Regions from separate parts of the Homo sapiens genome. Here region 2 is linked to region 1. The links are contacts of gene promoters, found by promoter capture Hi-C in blood cells and fetal thymus (Javierre and others, 2016). All regions are on one chromosome and are shown on one strand. The core of a region is centred on a gene start or on the middle of the fragment in contact, and the rest is flanking DNA. Distances in the headings are between cores, read along the strand shown.

Region 1 (7,342 bases), core at 1,997-4,496:
CTGGAAACCTAAACATTTCAGTTCACAGTCCAAACCACAAATAAAGCACGTAAACTGAAAGTGTCTGTCACAAAGTCTACAGGATTTACACTCGGGCAATAGCCCACATCATTTGATGGAAAAAAAGACAACAGATAATAGAGCAGCAGGGCCCACTCACAGTCTGACAGCAGCAGAAAGTGATAGCCAATAACAGAAAGAGGACCCAGAAAAAAAAAAAAAACATAAAAAGAAGAATGGTACTTCTGTCTCTATTCTAGTATTTCAACCCAGCAGGCTGAGACCATTTACTATAAACAAAAACAGCTCTATACACCTCAGCGAATAGCACTATTCAATTCTTTATGAATTCATAAAGACAACCCAACAAGAAAGAATAACTTATATCCAATATTCTCCAAGGGAACAAGGAAGACAGTAAGATTTAGAAATTGCTTGTGGGTTATAATGGCTCTTTTTTTTTAAGTTTCAGTAATAAACGGTGTGAAGAGTCAGCTACCGAGAAAATGTGCTTATGTAAATAAGTACCAATGCAGATGAGGTCAAATAAATGAGATACTATATCTTGCATAAATAATCAAAGTTCTCACTCTCCAAGGATATCTTAGAAATTCCCAGGTGTATGTTGGAAAATCCTAGTATGAATTAAAAAGCAACAAATTGATATTATTTGATAAACAGGTGCATGATTTTAAAAAGGATTTGAGGATTGAAGATGGGATTTTTAGCAATATTTAAATGGTAATGAAGCTGATAGTTGTTCATAAGGTGCAATAAAATGTTTTAATTTAAATTATTGGGAAATGTAAACTGTCAAAATCTTTAAACGAAAAGTAGTTTTTATCCAAAAAAATTGTCATAAGCATCTTTATTTACTGCATTGGTTTATTTATTCTAAGACGCGTACCAAGCTTAAATACAACAAGCATAGTCCTCTGGAAATCTTAGATTTAAAAAGAGTTTGAACCTGTATAGTAGTATTACCTGGAAAAAGTCAGAAGTATAGTTTCTGTTCAGTTATGCCCAACCTCCTAATAGAGTATCAAGCCTTTACTAAATATCGGGGCACTATGCTTTATTGTAGTTTTTAAAGACTTGTATAATACTAAGTCACACAACACTAGATGTCAACTTAACCTTGTAGGTGGCAGGCAAATCATACAATACTAGAGTGTTTTTCTCTGGCATTATCTAGAAGAGTTGCTGAACACAGACACATTCCTAAAGCAAAACCTCAAACCACCAAGAGACAGTTTCTATAGGAGAAAACTAAGCTGGCTAAGATTTAATTCAAGTAACACAAAGTTCTGGTCTCCTTTACCATATAATATTAAGATGCATGACTCTAATTTTAAAATCTCCTGGGGACAAAGTATGGTTACTCTTAACACTATTAAAATATTGGTTAAAGATAACCATTGGGTACTGGGCTTAATAACTGAGTGATGAAATAATATGTAAAACAAACCCCTGTGACATGTGTTTACCTATGTAACAACCCTTCACATGTACCCCAAAACCTAAAATAAAAGTTTTTAAAAAAGAAAAGAAAAAAGGGCACTTTCTATCCTTCCTTCAAATGGTGGTGATTTTTTTCTGGGGATATGTCAGAAGCACGCCAATTTTGAGTGAATATAGACGTTTTTGAACATGAAATTATCAGAAATGATAACAATTTGGCATCTAGCCAAACTCCCTAACATTCACGTCATTGATACTGAAAAACTGGTAGTACAAGGTGACAGCCTGAGGGGACTGAAGATTTTTGGAGTATTTGGAGTAGTGTGGTTTTTTTCTAATTTTTACCAATAGGATCCCCAGAAATAAAAGACTCTATCGTCACTGCTAACACTGGCTCATAATAAAGGTGATTCTCCAGAGCACGCCTGGTTTGATACCGCCACCCACTCCTTCCCTTGGCGACATTTTCCTGCTAAGAACGCCTAGTTAGCGCAATCCAGCCATTCGCGTTAGTTCTCAGAACTCTCTCAGAAGTTCTCTACCTTCTCTCCTCTCCCCGCCTAGATGCTGAAAGGTGATGGGAACTCGCGGTACAGGTACAGAGGCTATTCCTTTCCTAAGGAAGTGCTGCACAATGGCAGGTTTACCGTACTCAATTTTATAAACCCTCAATTAAACCAGAAAGCTTGTATATAGAGATTGGGTACCCCGCCCACCTCCTCAGATTGTCCTTTTGCCCCGACGCACTGCATCTACTTGCACTCTCCGATGCGGTTTGCCTCCTTCAAATCCAAAACACACATACCAGGCTCCCTCGCCGCTCCTCCAGTCCATGGAAGGCGCCCTTCTTTTTGCCAGCAGCGCGTCCTTCTCTCCCCGCCCGCAGGCGCTCACCTCTTCTCTAATCCCGGGGGCCCGCACAGGCTTCTCTAATGCAAGGGCACCCCGTACCATTCCCAAATCGGCGCGGGGACCCGTGAAACCCTGCCACCACTGTACACTGTCCATTGTCGAGAGTCGCGCGGGCACGCGGAAACGGCGGGCCCCGAAAAGTCTCAGCGAGCTTGTACAGCCCCAAGACATTCCCCACCCCCAACACATCCCGCTCTTGTTCCTCCTTAGGGGGAAGACGGAGTAAAGGGGAGTTGAAGAGGTCCCGAAGCTCCTCCTGGTCCCCCACCTCCATCCCTGCCCTGGCAGCTGGCTCTGGCCTCTGGGCTCCGCGGTGCCCATCCCTTCAGGGGTCAAGTACAAGGTCCTCGGCCGAATCGCCTCCCCGTTATACCCTCCCTCTGCCTTGAGCGCACAAACGCGAGAGAACCCTCGAACGGATGCCATATGGCAGAAACAGGATCGCGGGCGCTATGAGGGGCCAGCCTAAAAAGATCTCCTTCACACCCCCTCAACCCCTAGCCTTTCTCCCTACCCCGCCAACCCCCACTAACCACTTCTAACTTCCTCAGCCCAACCCTGTCTGTGCTTTCTAATTCCCACCCCCCCGCCCCTGGACAGCAGCCATTCGCCCGGCACTCACCTCAGGGAGCAAACAACGCCCCTCTCCTCCACCCAGACCGCCCCCCCTTCCGCCCTCTGGAACGGCGTGGTCCCTCCGCTCACCTCGTCTCTTGGCTGCCCCGCGCGAGTTTGAGTGTGTGTCTGCCGCGTAATTGTATCCGGGACAGAAGGGACCTGTGTTTGTGCGCTGAATCAGGTGTCGCCGCCTTCGGTGGTTCGGGGGCGTAAGGGAGGCTTCGGAGTTAGCGTGTTGGCTAAGGAGGGCTCTCTGGGTTCACAGTTGATAGCAATGCTTTAACCGTGTCCTCCCTCGGGTCCTCAGCGCGCCTGCTCGTCCGCAGCTCCCAGCGGGCGGCCAGGCCCCCCGCCCCCCAGCCGCGCCCCGCCCTGCGTGCGGCGAGCAGAGTCGGAGCGCGCCGCTGCCCTTCCGCACTTGGCTCAGCGGGGCACGACACGGGCCGCCACGCGCTCAGCCTAGCATCACTCGCCTCTGACTGCGAGCGCCTCCAGCTCCCCGGGCTGGGGCATGGATGCAGACGCGCCTTCGTACCACGCGCTCGCAGGCTGGGCAAGGGGCAGCGCGTTGGGATCCGGCCAGTCGTCCGCTGAGCGAGGTTGGCTTGCAGGCTGGGACTTTTCGCGAGCCCTCTGGGCGCTCGAGTTGCGAACTCTGACAACGGCACGTGGCCCCGCCCACTCTTCCCTCTTTGCGAGGCGTGTCCCGCGCCCTTTCTGCCACCACCCACGTAGTCCCTGTGCCCGCCTTTTATCATCAAGGCGGCTCAGTGAGCTCTGCGTGTTGATGTCGCGCCTTTTCTCATCTTCCTGCCTTTCCTGCCTCACTTCTGCTGAATCCATTCAAAAGTTATACTTGGGCAAGTGGGTGGAGGAGTTAGGAAAATTAAAAGAGGGATGCTTAGGTGAGCAGGTACCTGCACTGCCGCCAACCCAGGCTTCAATTCTGGCTCTCTTGTAGCGGAAAGCCTTAAAAAACGCGAGTTTGGGGATCCTGAAAAAAAGTAAATAGGGTTGCTGGGCTGAATAACATCCCTCCTCTCAGGCTCCTGCTGAAAGGGCCATTCATGATTTGCCTGGTTGAGCCTGTGGCGACTTTATTCTGACGAATCTGCCTTTGCCAGCAGCATAACCTTGCCAAGTTGGCGTCTTGACCAGCAAGCAACTGTGCCCAAGGAAGCCTCTCTGTGGTGCCTCAGACCTGAGAGGCCGAGTGCCTTTGAGCGCCTGAGGTAGATTGTGAGTTTCATGAAAACCGAGAAAGTCTAAGTGTGCATGTGCGTAAGATATTTTATATATATATATCTCATATATATATGAGATATGTCTATATAACGTGGACTGAATTGTTTATTGTTTATGTTTCGTGTCGAGCATAAATTCCAGAAGCTAAGATGCTTCCATAGCACACAAACGTTATGCGTTTAAACGTTGGAAATCAAAAATGCCATGTCAGGTCATTCTGTCCTTGTTCCAAAGTGAGATTCAGAAATAGGTTGGGATTTTCTGCCCTTAGATAAGAAAACGGAAATTATATTTTACTGTATATGTTATCAGTTAATGATAAATTAAAAAACTAATATACACTGCTGTTATTGTAAAATCCATATGCTCAAGAATGTTCATGGATGGAGAGATCTTCAAATGCCATTTCAAAAAAGAAAATGCACTTTTCTTCTTTGCAGATTAGGAATTTGAACATATTCCCTGTGCAAAATGCAGGGAATATTTTCACAGCCTTTGTACCTGATTACCATACTCTCTATTTATTTCTTATTTAAATTGCACTAGAAAACCTAAAGTAAATGAAATGTAACATAATAAAGAAAAGAGAATTTAGACATTTACTTTAAAAGCTTTATTTCTCAAAGGTCAAGCTTCAGTTTCAAGCTACTGTTTGATGATGCATATGTAAATTCTTGGTAAAAACTTGATCATTAGCAATTAAAACAACTTTTTTCTTTTATTATATAAAAATGTTTAAAATTGTTTCACCACATCCTTGTCCTTAAAATGGTGTAAACTGACCATTGTGTAAGGTTTTTGTCAGATTTTTGGATAGAAAAGGAGTATATATTATGTGTAGATATGTCCATGTTTATTGTTTCTCTAATCTATCTATTTTTGTCCACATTAAATACTGATTATTGAATTTCTCACAGCTCTACACAGTAAGGGTGTTCCATAATGTAAAACAAGTTTATTCAATCATCATATGAATAGTTGAAATACACTTTTGGAGTTTGAAATGATAAAAGCAAGAAATCAGTGAGGTTCATTTCACCGCCCCACCCCACTTTTCCTTTTTTTAATGCTCCCACCTTTAATTGTTAACATTATTGGCTAAGTGGTTGAATAAATGAATAATGAAAACATTTGCTACTTCTCTTTAAGGAAGGATGCATATTTTCCATATTTAATGTATCCTTCAAGCTCCCATTCAGATTAAACAAGATTCTCCCTATCATCTTTAGTTTATAGAATGTTGAATGGGACAGCATAGCCTGCAGTGAGAAAGTTTCAGCCAATGTGGAGTATGGTATTAAAATTCCCTCATTATTTCTGTGGACTATATATATCAGTATTCTCAATTGTTATTTTTTTCAGAAATACTTGTTATAATTATTCACCCCATATAACTTTATTGGAAAATATAAACAACCATATGTGAGATATTATATAAGTTTTGTAATCATTCACCATTAACTCTGGGATCAGACTTCCTAGAATTTGAAGAAGAAATTAATGAAATCAAACGTAACTTAATAGTAGTAGTAATAGAAATTTTAAAATCCTCTTAAAGTTTCTGCAAAGTGTGATCCCTGCCCCCTTACACTCAAGTTAAAGGAGAATGTTAACAGCCTGTCCTGTCTCTGTGGACAGTGGACCTTATCTATACTCCCCAACTCCAAATTACTCAAGTTTATTACAGGCCAGCAAGCTCCTGCACAGCTGCAGTCACAAGACCAATAAGTTTAGGTTGCAAGACATGTTTTTCTCAAGATGTAAGAAATGTTGTAATGCTTGATTAACTGCCTTTGTTTCTCGCTTCTGTAACTTGCTTCCCACCTCATGTAGTTCCTGCCTTAAAATGTTTAAAAGTAGGAAAAGCCCTTAGTTTGGGGCTCATACTTTCTGGACATATGTCCGGCTGGGCCGGTGATCACCTTAATAGACTCTCCTGAACCTTTTTCAGTCTCTCCAGTCTTTGATTGTCTTGTAACATTTCTGGGGGCTCATCCGGGATTGGAGAGGGAACATTTTCTGTCTCCTTTGCCTGTGGGCTACAGCCCCAGGACATGGGAGATCTGGGGTCCTTGGCACCACCAGGAGAGTTTCAGCCCAGAAGGAGAACTGCCCTCCCGCGTTCTGGGGCCTTCCCCCGACAGCACAAATGGAACCAGTGGAAGGGGTTGCAGGATGGTCACGGGAGCAGCGCACAGCCATCTGAACCACGGTAAAGTTTGGGCCCTAAGGCAAGACCCGTCCCATAAGGACGGAAGGGGAGCCTGATCATCTCCCAGGGCATGATGACTGATCTGACCCGAGGGGGTTGGGACAATGGGAGAGGCCCATTGATTCAGACAAAACTCACGCCCTAACCGACACCAGATGCAGGTGGGGCTCGCACGTCAGTCAGAAAGGAAAACAGTTTCAGGGACGGGGGAGGTGTGTGAGACAGTCTCAGGAGAGACCAATGCGGGGTGTGACATGGGGAGGCACAGATCTCTTAGCATGCACTGTGTGCTCTGAGGCGAGTGTGGGAAAAACCAGACCTAGAACACTGCATACAGCCCATAGGACCAGCTGTATGGCTGCAGCTAGCTGTAACAGGAATTAAGGTACTCTCCTGGCTAAGCAGCATCCACCATGGCTGCAGCTAGCTGTAACAGGAATGAAGGCACTCTCCTGGCTAAGCAGCATCCGAACCTCCCATAATAGGACCTGGTCTGGTGGATCCAAGAGTGAAAGTGACAGTGAAAGCATGCCGTGAGGGAAGAAATGGGAGGAAAAGCATCAAAGCCTACTCCACTGGAGTGCATGCTGAAAAACTTTTACAAAAGGTTTAAATGGTGATTAAATGGTTAAGCTAACTCCACAGAAACTGAGAACCTTTTGTGAGATAAACCGGCTGTCTTTTAATGTAGGGTGGCTGGCCGAGGGGACAATACACAAGGAGATAATTGGCCAAGTGTTTCAGGTGGTCACTGGGCTTGGAGAATAGCCCAGGCACCCAGATCAGTTCCCGTATACAGACTCCCAGCTAAGTGTAATTCAGACCCGCCCTAAGTGGCTGCAGACCTGCTTTGAGACCTACCATAAGACTTTAATGGCTTGGACAAAACCAGGA
Region 2 (7,342 bases), core at 1,458-3,957, 1.4 Mb after region 1:
TAGTCAGGAATCGATCTCGTGAAGCCCGCAAGGACCGAACACCCCCACCCCGATTTAGACCTGCGGGTGCTGCCCCACGTCCCCCACCAAAGCCCATGTAAGGAGCTGAGTTCTTAAAGACTGAAGACAGGCTATTCTCTGGAGAAAAATAAAATGGAAATTGTACTTAAAAAAAAAATAAAAAAAAAAAATAAATAAAACAGCATTTTGTCGTTTCTTTTTCCATTTATATTCATAGTTCTCTTTCTCTTTTCATTGCACTGGCTAGGGATTGATTGCAATGTCAAATAGTATCGCAAACAGGAATCCTTTTCTTGTTACTGCCTTTAATGAGAATACTGATGTTTGCAGTGGTTTTTGGAACGTTTCCTCTGCAAAGAACCTGATATTCCTAGTTGGATGCTTTTCAACAATTATTAACATTTAATCTATTGATCTATTTAATCTGGAATTAATTTTAAAATTTTAAAACTAGCCAACTAGGAATATCGGGCTGATTCCAGAGGGCATATTTGCAGATTAAAATTTAAATTAAATCAATGTAAATTATTTGCATATATTAATGAATCACTTGAATATTAAAATATTGAATCAAAGATTTATATTATAGGGGAACACTACACTGACCCATAAAAGTATGACCTATTAGCCCTTCTCAAGACTTATATTTGAGACAGCTGCCCACATAGTATTTGCCCAAATAGCAGGTGTTGCATGGAACTTTACATTTATAGAAACCTAGCCCATATAATCAAGAACATTAGATATCTTTTAAATAGCAGCTTAAAATTGGTTCTTCACATTTTTAAACTTGTGACTTTAGCTTCACTGATACTTTGTTCTAAGGTATATTATATTATAGACACTTCAAAAATCATTTTACTATTATGACACAAGCAAATGTAAACACAATACATTTTAGGTTTGTGATATTCCATTTAGAATTTTCCAGACTTAGAATTACCTTCTGAAAGTGATTTTCAAAAATAATATTTGGTTAAAACACATTTTGTTAGTTGGACTTCTATTTTCACCATCCAGACTATCTAAGATGAGAATCTTCATTCTTTTTCCCATTAGCTTGAAGCTTCAAGTCTCAGTAGGAGATCAATGTCTATACTATAAGTGTTTTAACAATTAAATTACTTAAGGGTCTTTAGGCATTGTGTTTAGGTGAATGCAATTTCATATACTCAAATTGACAGTGTTCTAAGGAGGTTGTGAAACAAGCCAGTCACACAAACTGACTTTGTTATGTTCTTCATTGTGCCAAGAAAAGGCAGCAGTGGGCATACAGAATGGCTGGTCTTGCATGGCTGCACTAGTGCTGAATTTGGTAACAATGACAGCTAACAGTCATTGAGCTCTTAGAATTGCCAGGCATTGTTCTAAATGCCGAACATGGATTAATCTCACAACAACTGTTTGCTGAAGGTACTGTTATTATGATCCCCCTATCACAGATGAGAACTCTGAGACACATTTACATGAGTAGAAAGCAGAATAGCTCATGAGTTACATGAGTAGAAAGCAGAAGAGCTGAAATTTGACCTCTGGGATTTGACCACCTAGCTTCAGAATTTGCGTTCTTATCCATTTCACTATGCTGCCTACCTCAGTCAATGTCAAAAGAGATCGCTGGCCATTTTAAAGTCTTAAAAACTTCTTCTTCATAGCTTTAAGAGTAGAAATAAAGAGTAGAAATAACCAGAGGATTCCAATTATTACACATAGATAGGTATTAATAGCTATAGCTAACTGTATTGTACATGCATTCAAATTTATATTTACCATGTTTAGTCAATTACTGGGCTTTGCATATCTTCCCAATTAAGAAAGGAAATAAACACTAAAGAATAATATCTGAAAAAAAGTTATTAGTAATTGCACCAAATATGAAAACTTTGAAAAAAATAAGATATAATACAGATTACAATTTTCATCTTTCAAGAATGATTATGTAATTAATCAAAGTTTGGGGTTTAAATCAAATCACTTTTGGTACATAGGCAGTTACCTAAACTCTCAGTTTCCTCTGTATAAAATGAAGAAAGCAATGCCTGACATCTATGCAAATTATGTATTAAGCTGTAATAAAATATTGTCAATAAATATTGTCACGCTTTTCAGGATTTTAGACATATATAACTGGAGAACTCCATTAAGGAGCAGTAAAGATGTAATTGTTTATAAAGCAAGATAATATAGCATAAAGAGAATTTAACTGTATAGAAAGGAACAAAAAAAATACTTCTGAGAAAGGCCATTGTACTTGAAAGTTGGGAATGGAGAATTAGGTTTGTTCTCCATATACTTTTGCATTGTTTTGATTGCTTAAAATAGAATATATTCATGTTACAAACATATGGAGTATTTAGCCAGATATCAGAAGACACAAATTTGGATGAGACACTTGACCCTGTGAATTTCAAATTCCTGTAATAAGTGTTATGGACACAATGTCTCTAATAGCCCCTTCCAGTTATACACTGAAGTGATTTAGTTAAGAGTATAATATGTGAAGAATGTAAGAGGCTCTCACACCCCCCAAGTAAAGCAAAATATTTGCATTTGTTTACGGAAAAGTTGTCTTCAAAATAGTTAAAACACTATCTACATTTTATTGCTTCCACAATTTTTGGTCAAAACACAATGCACAATGCTAACCTAGAAGGTTGAGATCTTTCTAAAAAAAACTTCAAGAAATAGGAAGAACACCAAAACATCCATCTTAGATGATGTTGTCTGTGGAGACTTACTCCAAAATGCAAGCTGTTTGATTATTAATCAATGGCACATTACGTGAAAGAAGGAAAAGAGCTGCCACCTCTCAAGCCTTTGCACCTGGTCCAATTGTCAAATGTTAGTGAGTTATGAACAAGAATGATGCACAAATTATCATTAGCTCGATACATTGTGCTCACATTGATGCAAGAATCCTTTCCTAGTCTGGCAGATTATAATTGTCTGTGAATAGAAGTTCCAAATCTCTGATCTGACTATCTTGATACAGTTGAATGTATAGAATTTGGTTTATTCTTCATCTCTCTTCTCCATCAGTTAAGTTACCAGGTTTCTATCAACAGTCCTTATAGATTTTGTTGAGCAATACTTATTTCCACTGCTCTCCTCTGCTTCTTTCTGATATTCTTTATTTGAGTGCAATATTCTTTATTTGAATGCAAATTTAGATTTGAATTATTTGAATGAATTTAGATTTCCTTGTCCTCTTATTCCTAAGAATCAATAAATCTAATAAATAGGGAGGGAAAGTAATTCAGGACCTAAAGAACCAACAAAAACTGATCTCGTGCTTCCCACAAAGGTAGTATAATAGCCTTCCCATGCTCATGAAGCTAACAATGAAAATAATAAATATAACAACAGCAACTAACGTAGAGTGCCCCTATATGCTAAGGATTGTGTTAAGCGTTTTACATAATTATTTCTTTCAACCCTCACAAAAACTCAATTTTATGTACTGTAATTATTCCTTACCTGTTTTACAGATAAGCAAATTGAAGCACAGAAATGGGAGATAACTTGTCCAAGGTCACAAGGCTAGTGAGTGATGGAAGCAGTACTTAAATCTAGTTTATCTGACTCTGGATTCTTGCTTCTAACCAGTGCTAAACTGAAGACAGTCCAGGTTTAAATCAAATGCTGATATCACTGGACTTGATTAGCTCTCATTTTAATTCTTCCAAGCCTGCTACTTTTTACTCATTTTATACTAAGGACCCAAAGTCCTCTGGTCAATTATTATAACTTTTTCAGTTTTTTTGACATATGCCTCAAATTTTCTTCATCTTATTTTCTTCAATGTGAAAATTGTCCCTAAAACATAAACCCTCTTCTATCTCTTGCTGGTAAAGGAAACCAAAATATTTTATCCCCAAAATAGAAGACAGAGCAGGGATCCCCTCTTAGGGACCTGCAGGCTCCCCAAGCATAGAAATAAAGGAAAATCTTGAGTTCCTTCAAGGGGAATTCCAGGCATGTAGCTAACCCTGAGAAGTAAATAAGAAACTTGATGAGCAAGAAGGTAATAGCAGCCAAGGAAGCTAGAATCACAAGATGTTTGGTTCCCCTATAGGCACAAAAGCTAACATCTTAACATATGTCTCTGAGTTCTGTCTCAGAAACCCAGACCCCCACCAAATAGATCTGCTGGCACAGAAGCCCCTGGTAAGGGGGAACGGAGGACTGAACTCTGGCCAACATTCTTTGTTTTACACTTCCTCCTGAGGGGCCTGAAAAAAGTCATGCCCATGAACCCAGGCTAACATTCTTTTCTGCTGACCCTACATTTTTAAACAAAGCTTCTCTTCCTTACCCAACTGCAAATCAGAAAATCTGTGACCTGTAAGTCCTCCGCTTCAAGATACTCTGACCTTTTAGGCCAAAACCAATGTGGAACCTCCATGTTTTGATTTACAATTTTGCCTGTAACTTCTGCTTTCTGAAATTTACCCCCGCCTTTAAAAATCTTTACCTGCAAGCCATCAGGGAGGTCAGGATTTAAGCATGAGCTGCCTGATCCTCCTTGTTAGGCACCCTGCCAATAAACACCTTCCTTTCTCCCGCTGAAAACCTTGGTGTGGATATCTGGTATTGCTATACAGGGCGAGTGGGCCCCAGTTTGGTTCGATAACAAATATTCTTCTTTGACATATTTTGAGATGGCCGTTCAGAGGGCCTACAAAAAGAAGTAGCCCTGCAAAGCTGTCCTGTGGGGGAGATTTGCATCTGTAGAGAATCTGCATTGATGCAGCCAGGCTTTCTCTGTGGGCCCTCCCTTGTCTGGATCTAGAAAAAGTGAACTGAGAGTCTGACATCTTCAAAGGTCTGAAAGAAACATTCACCATCTATTTTCTCCAAGGGCTACTACTACTGGTGAGGTTTCATCTATATAGCAAGACCTCCTTTGTTAGCTAGACCTCGCCTTCTCCCCCTCCCATAACTTGTTTTGCCATGCTCCAGGCCCCTATTCTTTCTGTATCCTCAAAATGGTATAAAAGTGTCAATCATCTGGCCATTTATTTGAGTTGTTATAGTTTTGTATGGCTCCCATGTATGTTAATCCATTTGTATTCCTTTTCTCCTATTAATCTGCCTTTCTGTTAGTTGATTTTTAGCCAGCCTTCAGAGGATGAAGGGGAAGTATGCCCTTTGCCTCTTCACTGTCTTTACTGCTCCGGCAGTCTCATTCGAGTCCACTGCTTTAATAACCATTTACATCAAATGATGTAATAACCACTTATATTTCTTTTAGGGATGTATAACAAGCAGTTCAAATGCTATTCATGATCTCTTACTCTCCTCACCAAAACCAAAAACAAAACCAGAAACAAAGTGGCTCATGCCTATAATCCCAGCACTTTGGGAGGTGGAGGTGGAAGGACTGCTTGAACCCAGGAGTTCAAGGCCAGTCTGGGCGAGATAGCAAGACCCTGTCTCTACAAAACATTTAAAAAATTAGTTCAGCATGTTGGTGCATGTTTGTAGTCCTAGCTACTCAGAAAGCTGAGGTAGGAGGGTTGCTTGAGCCTGGGAGTTTGAGACTGCAGTGAGCTATATCATGCCACTGCACTCCAGCTTGGGTGACAGAGTGAGATTCCATCTCAAAAAAAATAAAATAAAATAAACAAACAAATCTTTGTCTTTATGCACTGTTTTATATTATAGTGTTGCATTACCATCTATACTGTTAGGCAAGGGAGAGATCTATTGACACTATCGTCTTCCTCTCCTCCCATAGGCCATCATCATCAAGTGCTCTGAAACTGGTCCTTAATCAGTCTTATAACAGTCCCCTTTTCTCCATCATCCAGACCACTACTACTCCATTCCAAGCTAACATCACCTCTTATATGGAGTAGATCATGACAACGGTCTCCAAATGATTTGCTTTGCATTGCACCTGACTCCCTTCGACTTGTTCTCCAAGCTGCACCAGGGTCATGTTTTCAGAATCCAAAACAGAATCCTGAGCTTGTTCCACCCCCAAGCCAGCTTCATATTGGGCTTAGGATACAAGTCTTAGAACGAAAACCTTAATATGGCTCATAAAATCTTTCAGGATCTGACTTTCTTCCTCAGGCTTCATTTCATACACTGCATTTCCCCTGGATGTTTCAGCTTCCAGATAGCCCATTTCTTTTAGGTTCTTGCATGTATGATTGTATTTGCCCATAGCACACTTCATCCCCTGACCGCTGATGTGCGCATTAACACTTTCTTTTATAAAAGAAGTTCAGTTACCACTTCCTAGGTCTTCTTCCGCATGCCCCCTGCCCACCTCATCATTGTAGGCTTAGCAAGTGTTCGAGGGCACACACTGGATGCCCAAATACCTGCTGAGTGAGTGAGTGCGTGAATTATTACTTCCAATCAGTTTCTATTGGAAAGTTTAATTCGTGTCATGTTTTTACTTCTTCTTTTTTTTTTTTTTTTTTTTGCTTTGTGATCCTTGCCTCAAAGGATCACCATTTTGGTTCTTGATGGTTTCACCTAGCTTCTTAGTTGTTGTGGAATATACACATTAATGCTGTTAGATTTGAGGTAAGAAGCAGAATGCTACAGTACTATTTTAACCATTTACTACCAGAGTAGCTTATCTTTCATTTTAACTCAGAAGGGGAGAAAAAGAAGTAACTCTTATGTAAAATTTGAAGTCTATTTCTATTAACAGAACTTGGAGACCATTTACTTTTCTCCCTACAAGTCTTAACTGACTACAAATTTAGTTCCTTTAAAATGCAATAACATTGGACTTGGATAGGCCTGTGTAGTGATAAATAAATGAGACATCTACCGAAGATTTTAGATGTGATGATGTCTTCGATTATTCATTCAAATTTCAGAATAAAATGACAAGCAGGATTCAGCCTTTCCATACCATCTGTCCCCAGATAAATGAGCATAAAGGCAAAATATAATTGTATTAATTTTATTTCAAAAGTTGAAAAATTACTTTATTATAAATGAAAATATTATTGTCTTTTAGGATGTGGGAGTGTGTGTGTGTGTGTGCGTGTGCACGCTTTGTAGAGTAGTAATTTTAGTGTTGGCTTTTTACTGGAATAGAGAATAGTAATGTCTTTCTTGGCAATTTTTTTTTGAGATGGAGTCTCACTCTGTTGCCCAGGCTGGGGTGCAGTGCAGCGATCTCAGCTCACTGCAACCTCTGCCTCCCAGGTTCAAATGATTCCCCTGCCTCAGCCTCCTGAGTAGCTGGGGTTACAAGCACCCACCACCAAGCCCAGCTAATTTTTGTATTTTTAGTACAGATGCAGTTTCACCATGTTGGTCAGGCTGGTCTCGAACTCCTGACCTTAAG

What was found. Contacts are between HindIII fragments. The CHiCAGO score rates a contact against its expected background, and 5 or more counts as called.
Region 2: a fragment that was not itself captured here is called in contact with the fragment with the promoter of UGT8 in region 1 in 1 of 17 cell types (endothelial precursors); the score reaches 5.9 in endothelial precursors.

Annotation. Positions count from the first base shown.
Region 1 is chr4:114,594,711-114,602,052 of GRCh38, reverse strand. UGT8 (UDP glycosyltransferase 8) reads right to left here and starts at 3,246. Exons shown (of 6, transcript NM_001128174.3): 1 at 3,079-3,246. The HindIII fragment of the contact is 2,701 bases long and covers 2,149-4,849 here.
Region 2 is chr4:113,206,805-113,214,146 of GRCh38, reverse strand. The region is part of intron 4 of ANK2 (ankyrin 2); the gene reads right to left. It also overlaps the pseudogene RPS26P25. Among named protein-coding and RNA genes, the nearest start is that of MIR8082, 58 kb to the right of the region's middle. The HindIII fragment of the contact is 3,235 bases long and covers 1,090-4,324 here.